Regions from separate parts of the Homo sapiens genome. Here region 1 is linked to region 2. The links are contacts of gene promoters, found by promoter capture Hi-C in human tissues and cell types (Jung and others, 2019). All regions are on one chromosome and are shown on one strand. Each heading gives the region's core, a stretch centred on a gene start or on the middle of the fragment in contact. The rest is flanking DNA. Distances are from core to core; before and after follow the strand shown.

What was found. Contacts are between HindIII fragments. The study calls those that stand out against the background at their distance.
Region 1: a fragment that was not itself captured here is called in contact with the fragment with the promoter of RPL7L1 in region 2 in 1 of the 25 tissues and cell types used here (lymphoblastoid cells).

What each region holds. Positions count from the first base shown.
Region 1 is chr6:42,258,147-42,263,325 of GRCh38, forward strand. TRERF1 (transcriptional regulating factor 1) reads right to left here. Exons shown (of 18, transcript NM_001395490.1): 8 at 5,174-5,179; 9 at 1,193-1,577; 10 at 1-55. Among named protein-coding and RNA genes, the nearest start is that of MRPS10, 43 kb to the left of the region's middle. RefSeq lists enhancers at 2,038-2,558, 2,559-3,079, 3,017-3,066. The HindIII fragment of the contact is 5,320 bases long and covers 266-5,179 here.
Region 2 is chr6:42,877,053-42,881,603 of GRCh38, forward strand. It overlaps RPL7L1 (ribosomal protein L7 like 1), which reads left to right and starts at 2,564. Exons shown (of 6, transcript NM_001366481.3): 1 at 2,564-2,899; 2 at 3,809-3,914. The coding sequence starts at 2,859. RefSeq lists enhancers at 1,576-2,533, 2,276-2,745, 2,534-3,490, 2,766-2,825. The HindIII fragment of the contact is 12,927 bases long and covers 1-4,551 here.

The DNA of each region.
Region 1 (5,179 bases), core at 1,676-4,175, 620 kb before region 2:
ACAGTCTGCTCTCCAGGCCCTGGGGTGACCGTCACGTTGCTGCCATCGATGCTGTCTAAAACACAAAAATCAGAGGTCACTAGTCAACAGGGAAGGAATGTTGAAAAAGACTAAAGCAAATGAGCAGTTACCTAACCAGCCATAATAGAGCTTCTCTCCTACCCAGCTCCTGCCAGAGTTATCCTTGACAGTTTCCAGGGAGCTGGGTGGAGTATGGTGCAAAATAACTTAGGGTTACCCATTTCTCACACAGGGTGAGGAGAAGCCAGCTGTCCCACAATGGTCTGCTAAGCGGTATGATTTCTATGCAATTATTCTTGCTCCAGAAAGAGATCCTAGCCTCTCTATGCTTGATTTTTATAAAGCATGCTAAAATGTCAAGGCTTGATCTTGCATGTAATACCTAATCTTATTTGTACATCTACTGAGTACATTTTCTTTTTTTTGAGACGGAGTCTCGCTCCTTCGCCCAGGCGGGAGTGCTGTGGCGCGATGTCGGCTCACTGCAGCCTCCGCTTCCCGGGTTCAAGAGATTCTCCTGCCTCAGTCTCCTGAGTAGCTGGAACTACAGGTGCCTGCTACCACATCCCGTTATTTTTTTTTTTGAGACGGAGTTTCACTCTCATCCCCCAGGCTAGAGTGCAGTGGCATGATCTTGGCTCACTGCAACCTCTGCCTCCCAGGTTTAAGCGATTCTCCTGCCTCAGCTTCCCAAGTAGCTGGGATTACAGGTGCGTGCCACCATGCCCGGCTAATTTTTGTATTTTTAGTAGAGACGGGGTTTCACCATGTTGGCCAGGCTGGTGTCCAACTCCCGGCCTCAAGTGATCCACCCGCCTCGACCTCCGAAAACGCTGGGATTACAGGTGTGAGCCACCGCGCCCGGTCTCATTTTTTCTCTCTTGCACGATCATTGCTGGCAGCCTTAAAAAGTGGGTGAACATTTCAACTGTTTCCTTATCCCAGAGACTGTAGTGATCACTTTATGCATCTGTCTCCCAATTAGACTGCGATTCCCTTGAGGATAAGGGCTATGTATTCCAAGTCTTTCTTAACACCCAGCAGCGCGTGCTACATACAGCCAATACTCCGCAAAAGTCTGTGGGATAAATGAGAAAGCTAAAGAAAACGAGATGTCCCAGGACTTTACCCAGCACCCAGAGCCCAGGAGGACGCTAAAGGGGTGACTCACTGGAGCGACACAGCAGCACCCGTGGTGTGGGCGTCAGGGGCGTCAGGGGCAGCTGCGGGTGGGCGCCAGGGCCGTGGCCGGAGATGAGGACATTGCTGAAGAGCCCCGAGCCCTGGCGCACCGGGCTCAGCATGGGTGGGGGCGTGTAAGGGGGCAGCTCGTGGGTGGGGTCCAGGAGCAGGTGGTCCCCGAGGACGCGCGGGGAGCGCAGCTGGCTCTGGTACAGGGTGGCGCCCGAGTAGGAGGCAGCGGGGTTCGGGTTGTAGGAGGGCGGCGGCGGGATGAAGAGAGGTTCCGGCCGGTGCCGGAACTTTTTCTTCTCCTGCACGGTCTTGAGGGGCTCCTCGGCTTTGGGCACACTCGGCTGATGCTTCCTGGGGATTTCCTAAAACCGGAACAACGATCTGATTCGAATACTTCAGCTTCCCCCGCAGGCCATTTCCACAGGTTCAGGGAAGGGGGCCTTCTACTGTCTAAGCAGAGAGCCCTTCTGCTTGACCCCCCCACCCCCAACGCCCCCACATTCTGACCACATCCATTTTAGGCAAAGCGAGTTCTGGTTGCTAGACTAGGGAGAAAACTAAGGTTTTGGAAGAAATCCCTAATTTCTGAAAGAGCTGGGGGTGGTAGGAATAGTGGGTGGGCAAGAAGTAATAAATTCAAATTCTTTATTGCTTATCACTACATTCCCATCTGTTTGAGTGGAATCCAGCTGAGTGGGCTCTTTAATTCCCCCATTGCTCCCCAGGGACGGACATCAGGAACAGATACCACATGTTCTGAGAAGGGGACAGAATAATCTCTTCAGGGAAGCTGGGACCGAGACCTGTGAGGCAGGAAGTGGGGGTTCAAGCCTAGCCAAGGTTCCTAAGGCCAGCGACCCACACCGGGCTCTCCTGGGTCACTTTCAGCAGGGGGGGAGAGCCTTCGATGACCTCTAAGGGCCCTTCCATGTGCTCACCTAAAAACGGATCTGGTTAACCTCCCCCGTCACCACCCCTCACTATTGCTCCCAGAACTCGTAGCTTATTTGTAGCAAACTCTTCTCTGAGGTTGGCTTCCTGTCAGGAGAGTTAGTTTATTTTAATGGCAGCGGAACCAAGCATAGTCTGGAAGGAGGATCTGCCACATGGATACATATATACTAATAAGTAAACATAGGCACGTAAACAGATGAGCAGGGCATGCCAAAGCCAAACAGAAACAGACTCGGGTTGTGTGGTAGCATCAGCCCAGAAAAGTCGAGAGCTGGGTGTGGCTGCAGAGGCAGTGTGGTTGGGAGGGGCCACGGGGATACCTGAGGGAAGGTTCTGGGCAGTCTGGGGTGCCCTCTCAGGCCCTGCAGGCCAGGGGCCAGTCACAGCTGCAGGTCCTGGAGACTCCTGAGCCCAGGGTGGCGCCTGGGTAGGAAGCAGCAGGGGGTGATGGGAAGGGCTGGCTACGGTCATGTGACCATCTGCCTCCAGGCCATGTGACCTGCCCCATGGGCTCCTCTGCTCTGGGCTCCTCTCCCTCCAGAGCTTCAGGCTCTGCCCCCTTCTGTTTCTCCCTCAGCTTCTCTGCCTTCCATGGTGCCATCCTGGCCTCTAGGAGAGGAGTCTAGGGAGGCAGAGAGTGGGGAAAGGAGGAGGGGGCAGAGGGTCCCAGGCTCCCGGCTCCAGAGTGAGGTTCCTAACTACCCCCGCCCCCACCCCTCCCCTATCCCCGCGCCTCACCCCCAGGGGACCCTCCTTAGGCCAGCGCGCTCAACCGCCTCTTTTCTCCACCAGAGGGCTCCTCAGCGCCTGAGGCTGAGGCGAGAGAGGGGCTGAGGAGAATGGGGGAAGGAGGCCTGTGCCCCCCCCAAGGGGAGCAGCCCTGAAGATACACTCTGTTCCCGGGTAACAGATAAGATCATCCAAGAACATGCAGACCTTATATGATCTCAACGCAGCACTGCAATCCAGACCTCTGATCACAGGGCCAGAGGTCCCTTTTGGGCTCCCTCTCCTCCAGCTTCTTGTCCTGTTACTCCAGCTCTAAACCTGGATTTTCCGATCCTCCAGGCAAGGCTCTGAGCCACTGGGCAAGAGAAGCCACCCAGGATGTCATATATGGTTGTCACTTGAGAGGAAACACTTACAGTGTTCCACCCCACCAAGCTATTTGGACACTTTGGGGGTGAGGCCAAGCACTGAAAACTTTAAAAAGCTGCCCACAGAGAAGGATGAGAACCACTGATGAGTCCAACCCTATCAAGGTCAGGGGAGGAAACTGAGGCTGTGAGTGGGGGGCAGGTCTCAGCTGTCTTCATCCCAGCTGGCTAGGAGCCAAACTGAGATGGGCACTCGGGGCTCCTTCCTGGATGTTTTAATTTCTTTACATTAAGTGCCAGGGCCTTGTTCCCATGTATTCAGTCCCACCTACATGCTTCCACTTCAGCCTACCGCCCCCACCAACGAGGTCTCTCTCACCCTTCCATTAAGCCAAGTTCATCCCTTCCTTCAAAATCCTGCTCAGAACTCTAATGGTGATCTCCTGAGCAAACTCCCTTGCCCCTCCCCAGTCCATAATGACTTTGGCTACCCAGGTGTATTCTCATCCAGTCACACTTAAAGCATCAATTTCTTGTCTGCCCCTGTCTTTCTCTTACCATCTTGAAGGGGTGGGGGGGGTGTGCCTGGGACTCTGACCCCCATGTGACTATGAACTCTTAATTGAGAGTTCCCCAAGGGAACTATTTCCCCAAGGAAACACTGTTTCTCCTGCCAAAGCACGAACTTCCCTGGGCAAAGAGGGAGCTTGGATGTGTCATTTCATCTCTCTGCCTGTTGCTGACCCCCAAGTCCTGACGGCTTATGAGAATCTTCCCCCCAGTTCTCCATCAGTTTCTCTTCTTTTGAGGACTTGATATTACACCATAAAGGTTTTTTTCTGTACTTTTCTAGTTGTATTCATTATCTTCTCTCCCTCTACCCTGGCCCAGCCTACCCTTATGCCTCCTGGATTCCCAGCAGCTACCTATTCCTAAGGACAAATATGACCCAACATGCCACTTTGTGGGGAGGGGGTAGGTTTGATATTGCCAACCACACAGGTCACAAATTCCCTAGGGGCAGAGAGAGAGAGAGAGAGAGAGAGAGAGAGAGGAGAGAGAGAGAGAGAGAGAGAGAGAGAGAGAGAGAGAGAGAGAGAGAGAGAGAGAGAGAGAGAGAGAGAGAGAGAGAGAGAGAGAGAGAGAGAGAGAGAGAGAGAGAGAGAGAGAGAGAGAGAGAGAGAGAGACAGACAGACGGAAACCCTTCCCAGAGGCAAATTAAGCTGTTTGAGTGAAGCACTTAAAATTGGAGAAAGGAGAACAGTGAGTGAGAAAAACAAATCTCTTTGCTTTCCTGAGATTAGGGGTGGGTGGCTCTCAGTGGAACTACTTTGGGAACTTTAACGAATTAGGTTCTCCAGGGTATTTAAGCAGACAAAAATATTAAGCAACTGGTAAGGCTGCTTGTCAGAATGGATGCCAGGGCTATTGCCTGGAAGCCTGCTGCGCCAGTGGTTACCTCTTTGGTTGTGGATTTGGGAGGTCTGGAGATCCTGGGGAAGGGGCCAGGGCCTGGGGCAACAGCTGCTTACTTTCTGGGATACAGGACTTCCATATTTCAATAATGGCTATGATTGTCTCAGTGACTCCCAGCTGAATGATCGTCTCTGTTTAAACCTGGGAACACTTTCGGGTCTCTCAGAATCTAACCTAGGCCATTAGTTTGGCATTTAATGGGGAGCAGGCAGTGTGAACAAGGGTAGGGTTCCCAATGTGGCCACGGGTTCAGCCCTGAGAGACCAAGCCGTATCCAAGCTCAGGTCAGTGACTCTGGAAGGGCCGCCCCATCTCCAAGAAAGCAAAGGGATGTCCCCACCCAGGCAGGTGGGGCAGAGCAGCAACTCACAGCAGGCGTGCGGGGGGCAGCCCCTTGGGGTGAGTGTGGGGGAGAGAGGGTCATCCTCACGAGCAC
Region 2 (4,551 bases), core at 1,314-3,813:
GGATTACAGGCATGAGCCACCACACCTGACCTCAGTAACCTCACTTTGAAAAAAAATCTAGGACACATGCTCAATGCTCAATAAACACATATTCAGTTAGTGAATAATTGTTTAAGAGGTGGGGCTCCTTTCTTTTTCCCTTTGTCAGTCTGGTGGAGTAAGGGGATTGGCACTGAGAATAAGTATTCTCCTAGCACCATCTGCTGGCAGTAGAAAGCCATTCCTGAATCCTGGCCTCAATCCCATTCAGTCTTGGAGTACTGGTTTTTTGGGGGTTGTTTTGACACAGATTCTTGCTCTGTTGCCCAGGCTGGAGTGCAGTGGCATAATCTCGGCTCACTGCAACCTCCGCCTCCCAGGTTCAAGCAATTCTCGTGCCTCAGCCTCCCAAGTAGCTGACTACAGACATGTGCCACCATGCCCGGCTAATTTTTGTATTTTTGGTAGAGACAGGGTTTTGCCATGTTGCTGAGGATGGTCTTGAACTCCTGAGCTCAAGTGATCTGCCTGCCTCGGCCTCCCAAAGTGCTGGGATTACAGGCGTGAGCCATCGCCGCCTGGCTGAAGTATTGTTAACCCTAAAATTCCTCCTCCTTTTAATATTATTGGTACCACAGACTCTACCTTTTATCCATAGACAGGAAAAATCACAAAACATTTAACTTTTTGCTTTTTTGTTTACTATTTAGTGAATGTCTTACACTTTGGTGACCCTTGTGTTTAGCCTCTTTACAAAGACACATGGTGAGGTGCTGAAAGAGAATGAGCCTCCCTCTTTCAGTGTGTGACCTTGAATGCTGGGTTGTCCTGACACTTACTCATCAGAAAGTGACCTGTGCCCATGGCACTCTTTCCGGTTGGACTAGTTACATGGCAACACGAGGCCTTTAGCTGCCACCAGTATCAGTATCAATAGTGCCAAAATCGAGAAATTGGTGCTAGATCCTTAGGATCAGTGATGAGTAAGCAGTCATGGTTCCTGCCCCCCCTAGTATCATGTGGAAGAAATATTAAAAATATAATAATGTCCTGAGGGAAATCAGACACTACTCTAGAGTCTTACTAGTCAGCCCATAGACCAGTAGCACCAGCGTCACTCTGAAGCCTGTTAAAAATGCAGAATATTGGCCAGGTGCGGTGGCTCACGCCTGTAATCCCAGCACTTTGGGAGGCCGAGGCGGGCGGATCACGAGGTCAGGAGATCGAGACCATCCTGGCTAACAAGGTGAAATCTCTACTAAAAATTCAAAAAATTAGCCAGGCGTGGTGGCGGGCGCCTGTAGTCCCAGCTACTCGGGAGGCTGAGGCAGGAGAATGGCGTGAACCCGGGAGGCGGAGCTTGCAGTGAGCCAAGATCGCGCCACTGCACTCCAGCCTGGGCGACAGAGCGAGACGCCATCTCAAAAAAAAAAAAAAAAAAAAAGCAGAATATCAGCTCCCCACCCGGCCTCCTGAATAAAAATCTGTATTTTAGTAAAATCTTCAGGTGACTCCTATTCACTATTAATGCTTGAGAAGCGCTGCTCTGGAGGTTTCCAGAGATGATAAGACTTGTGTTGTTTTTCAGGATTTTTAATTTTAAAAAAAATTTATTTCTTGTTTTTTTTGAGACTGTCTCGCTCTGTCGCCCAGGCTGGAGTGCAAGTGGCACAAACTCGGCTCACGCAGCCTCCGCCTTCTGGGACTTCAGGCGCGAGCCACCACGCCCAGCTAATTTTTTGTATTTTTAGTAGAGACGGGGTTTCACCATCTTAGCCATGCTGGTCTCCAACTCCTGACCTCAAGTGATCCACCTGCCTTGGCCTCCCAAAGTGCTGGGATTACAGGTGAAAGCCACCGGCCCGACCTACTGTTTTTCAGGATTCTATATAGACTGGGAGGGAAGAACGCAAATTCCGGGCGATGAGAGCTGCATAAGGGTTTTATTTTTATTCTTTTTTTTTCTTTTCTTTTCTTTTTGTTTTTTTGAGACGGAGTCTTGCTCTGTCGCCCAGGCTGGTGGGCAGTGGCGCGATCTCGGCTCACTGTAACCTCCGCCCAAGACGGGGTTTCGCCGTGTTGGCCAGGCTGATCTCGAACTCCTGACCTCAGGTGATCCTCCCGTCTCGGCCTCCCTCCCAAAGTGCTGGGATTACAGGCGTGAGCCACCGCGCCCGGCCTGTGTAACGGTTTTAGACGGGAAGGAAGCATGTTGTAGTTTTCGGTCCAGCAGTAATAGTAACAAACATAGTGCTGACAGACACTGCTAAACGCTTTATCTAATCTCCTGTAATCCTCGTAACGCCATTAGGTAGACCTATTATTACTGTACACCCATTTTATGGGTAATGAAGCCGCAGTATAGAGGGGTTAAATAACGTGTTCAAGGACGCATCGACGGGGCCAAGCAGACGGAATTGCAGCTACCTGCTTTACCACTCTAAGTCCTCAACAAACACTTCCACCTACACGTGAGAGCCAAAGCCATAGCCTCCAAGTTTTTCCACAGAGCGAAAATGTTTCGCGGAGTTTGCCTGTCTTCCTCCCCAGAGACGCAGCACAGCCGCGCCGGAAGTGCGGCGCCGTAGCTAGGAGCGGACGCCATAGGTGCATTGTGGGAAGCACTTTGCTGTCCACAGCCAGGCCGCTTGTGATGAAACTGTAACTTACAAGAAAAGGGCTGGGTTTTGAAAATAACACAGGCTCTAAAAACCCTAAGAAGCGGTGCAACTTTTGGCAGGAATCGGGGTTAGCGGGACCTCAAGGGCTCACTGCGGCTAAGTGAACGCTGACTGGTCCTCCAGCGTGAGCTAGAACAGACGTCTCTATGGTCAAGTAAACAGAGCGTGTGCTGTCTTCCCCATGTGGTGGGGTTGCGCATGATCAGTAGCTGCACCACTAGAAAGATGGCGGAGCAAGAGTGAGTGTTTGGGGCTTTGAATATCTGGAGTGGGGTCTTGAGTATCCGGTGCCATCCACGGTGTTTATGCCTTGGTGGCGGATTCCTGTGGGCTCTAGGAATAGAAAAGGCCACAGTTTACAAAGGGTGGGGGTGAGGAGGAGTAGCGCTGTGGCGGAGGAGGGAGGGGACCGCGGTCAAGTTCGGGTTATCTGGAGAGGCGAGGATTGACTTCAGGCAGCGGGCTGGAGTGCCACAGTTGAATTCACCCAGCCCGACAAGTGTTAACTCTGCAGATAGGCCTGCCCCCGCCCCAACCCCATAGATTCGTCGCTGCTAGTGCCTATGAAGAACTGTGGCCGTGAAAACCCTGTTAACTTATACGAACCCAGAGGCTAAAGGATTCATTATTTTCCGAGGCTTTGGGGATGAGTGACTATTAGGGATGGATTTATGAGGCCTGGAGTCAGAAACCGCAGGTTTCAGGGGAATCTTTCTTCAGATACTTGAAAACAGTAATGTTCCCTAAAGCCCAGGATATTGAATTGGTTTGGAAATCCATTGAATGTTCGTTTTCTTTTTTGTTGTTGTTTTTGTTTTGAGACGGAGTCTTGCTCTGTCCCCCAGGCTGGAGCGCAGTGTCGGGATCTCGGCTCGGTGCAACCTCCGCCTCCCGGGTTCAAGCGATTCTCCTGCCTCAGTCTCCCGAGTAGCTGGGATTACAGGCGTGCGCCACCACGCCCAGCTGATTTTTTATTTTTAGTAGAAACGGGGGTTTCACCATGTTGGTCAGGCTGGTCTCGAACTCCTGACCTCAGGTAATCCACCCACCTCGGCCTCCCAGAGTGCTGGGATTACAGGCTTGAGCCACCGAGCCCGGCCAAGTGTTCTTTTCTAAATGTTATCTCTGATCTCAATTTTCTGCATCAGGCAAAGAAAAATCCCTTTGGTTCCAGAAAATCTCCTGAAAAAGAGGAAGGCTTATCAAGCCCTCAAAGCCACCCAGGCAAAGCAGGCACTTTTGGCAAAGAAGGAGGTAATGGTGGGGAACCAAGAGAAAGTAATTAGAATTTTTATTTGGTGAGTTTTATCCCGCATGTGTTGGACTACATTTGGTATTGACGAGCTCCCCCCAACGGTTTGACAGACCAGGTATAGTTGTCTCTCAGTGTCCTTAAGGGGTTGGTTCCAGGACTCCCACAGATGCCTAAATCTCAGACTGCTGAAGTCCCTTATATAAAATGGTTGTAGTAGGCCGGGCGCGGTGGCTCACGCCTGTAATCCCTGCACTTTGGGAGGCCGAGGCGGGCGTATCACGAGGTCAGGAGATCGAGACCATCCTGGCTAACACGGTGAAACCCCGTCTCTACTAAAAATATAAAAAATTAGCCGGGCATGGTGGCAGGCTCCTGTAGTCCCAGCTACTCGGGAGGCCGAGGCAGGAGAATGGCGTGAACTCGGGAGGTGGAGGTTGCAGTGAGCCAAGTTCGTGCCACTGTACTCCAGCCTGGGCGACAGAGCGAGACACTCTCTCAAAAAATAAATAAATAAATAAATAACTGGTTGTAGTATTTGCATATAATCTATACTCCTTCCGCCTATGTAGTTTAAATCCTCTCTGGATTGCTTAATAGCTTTATTTATTTATTTATTTATTTTGAGGCAAGAGTCTC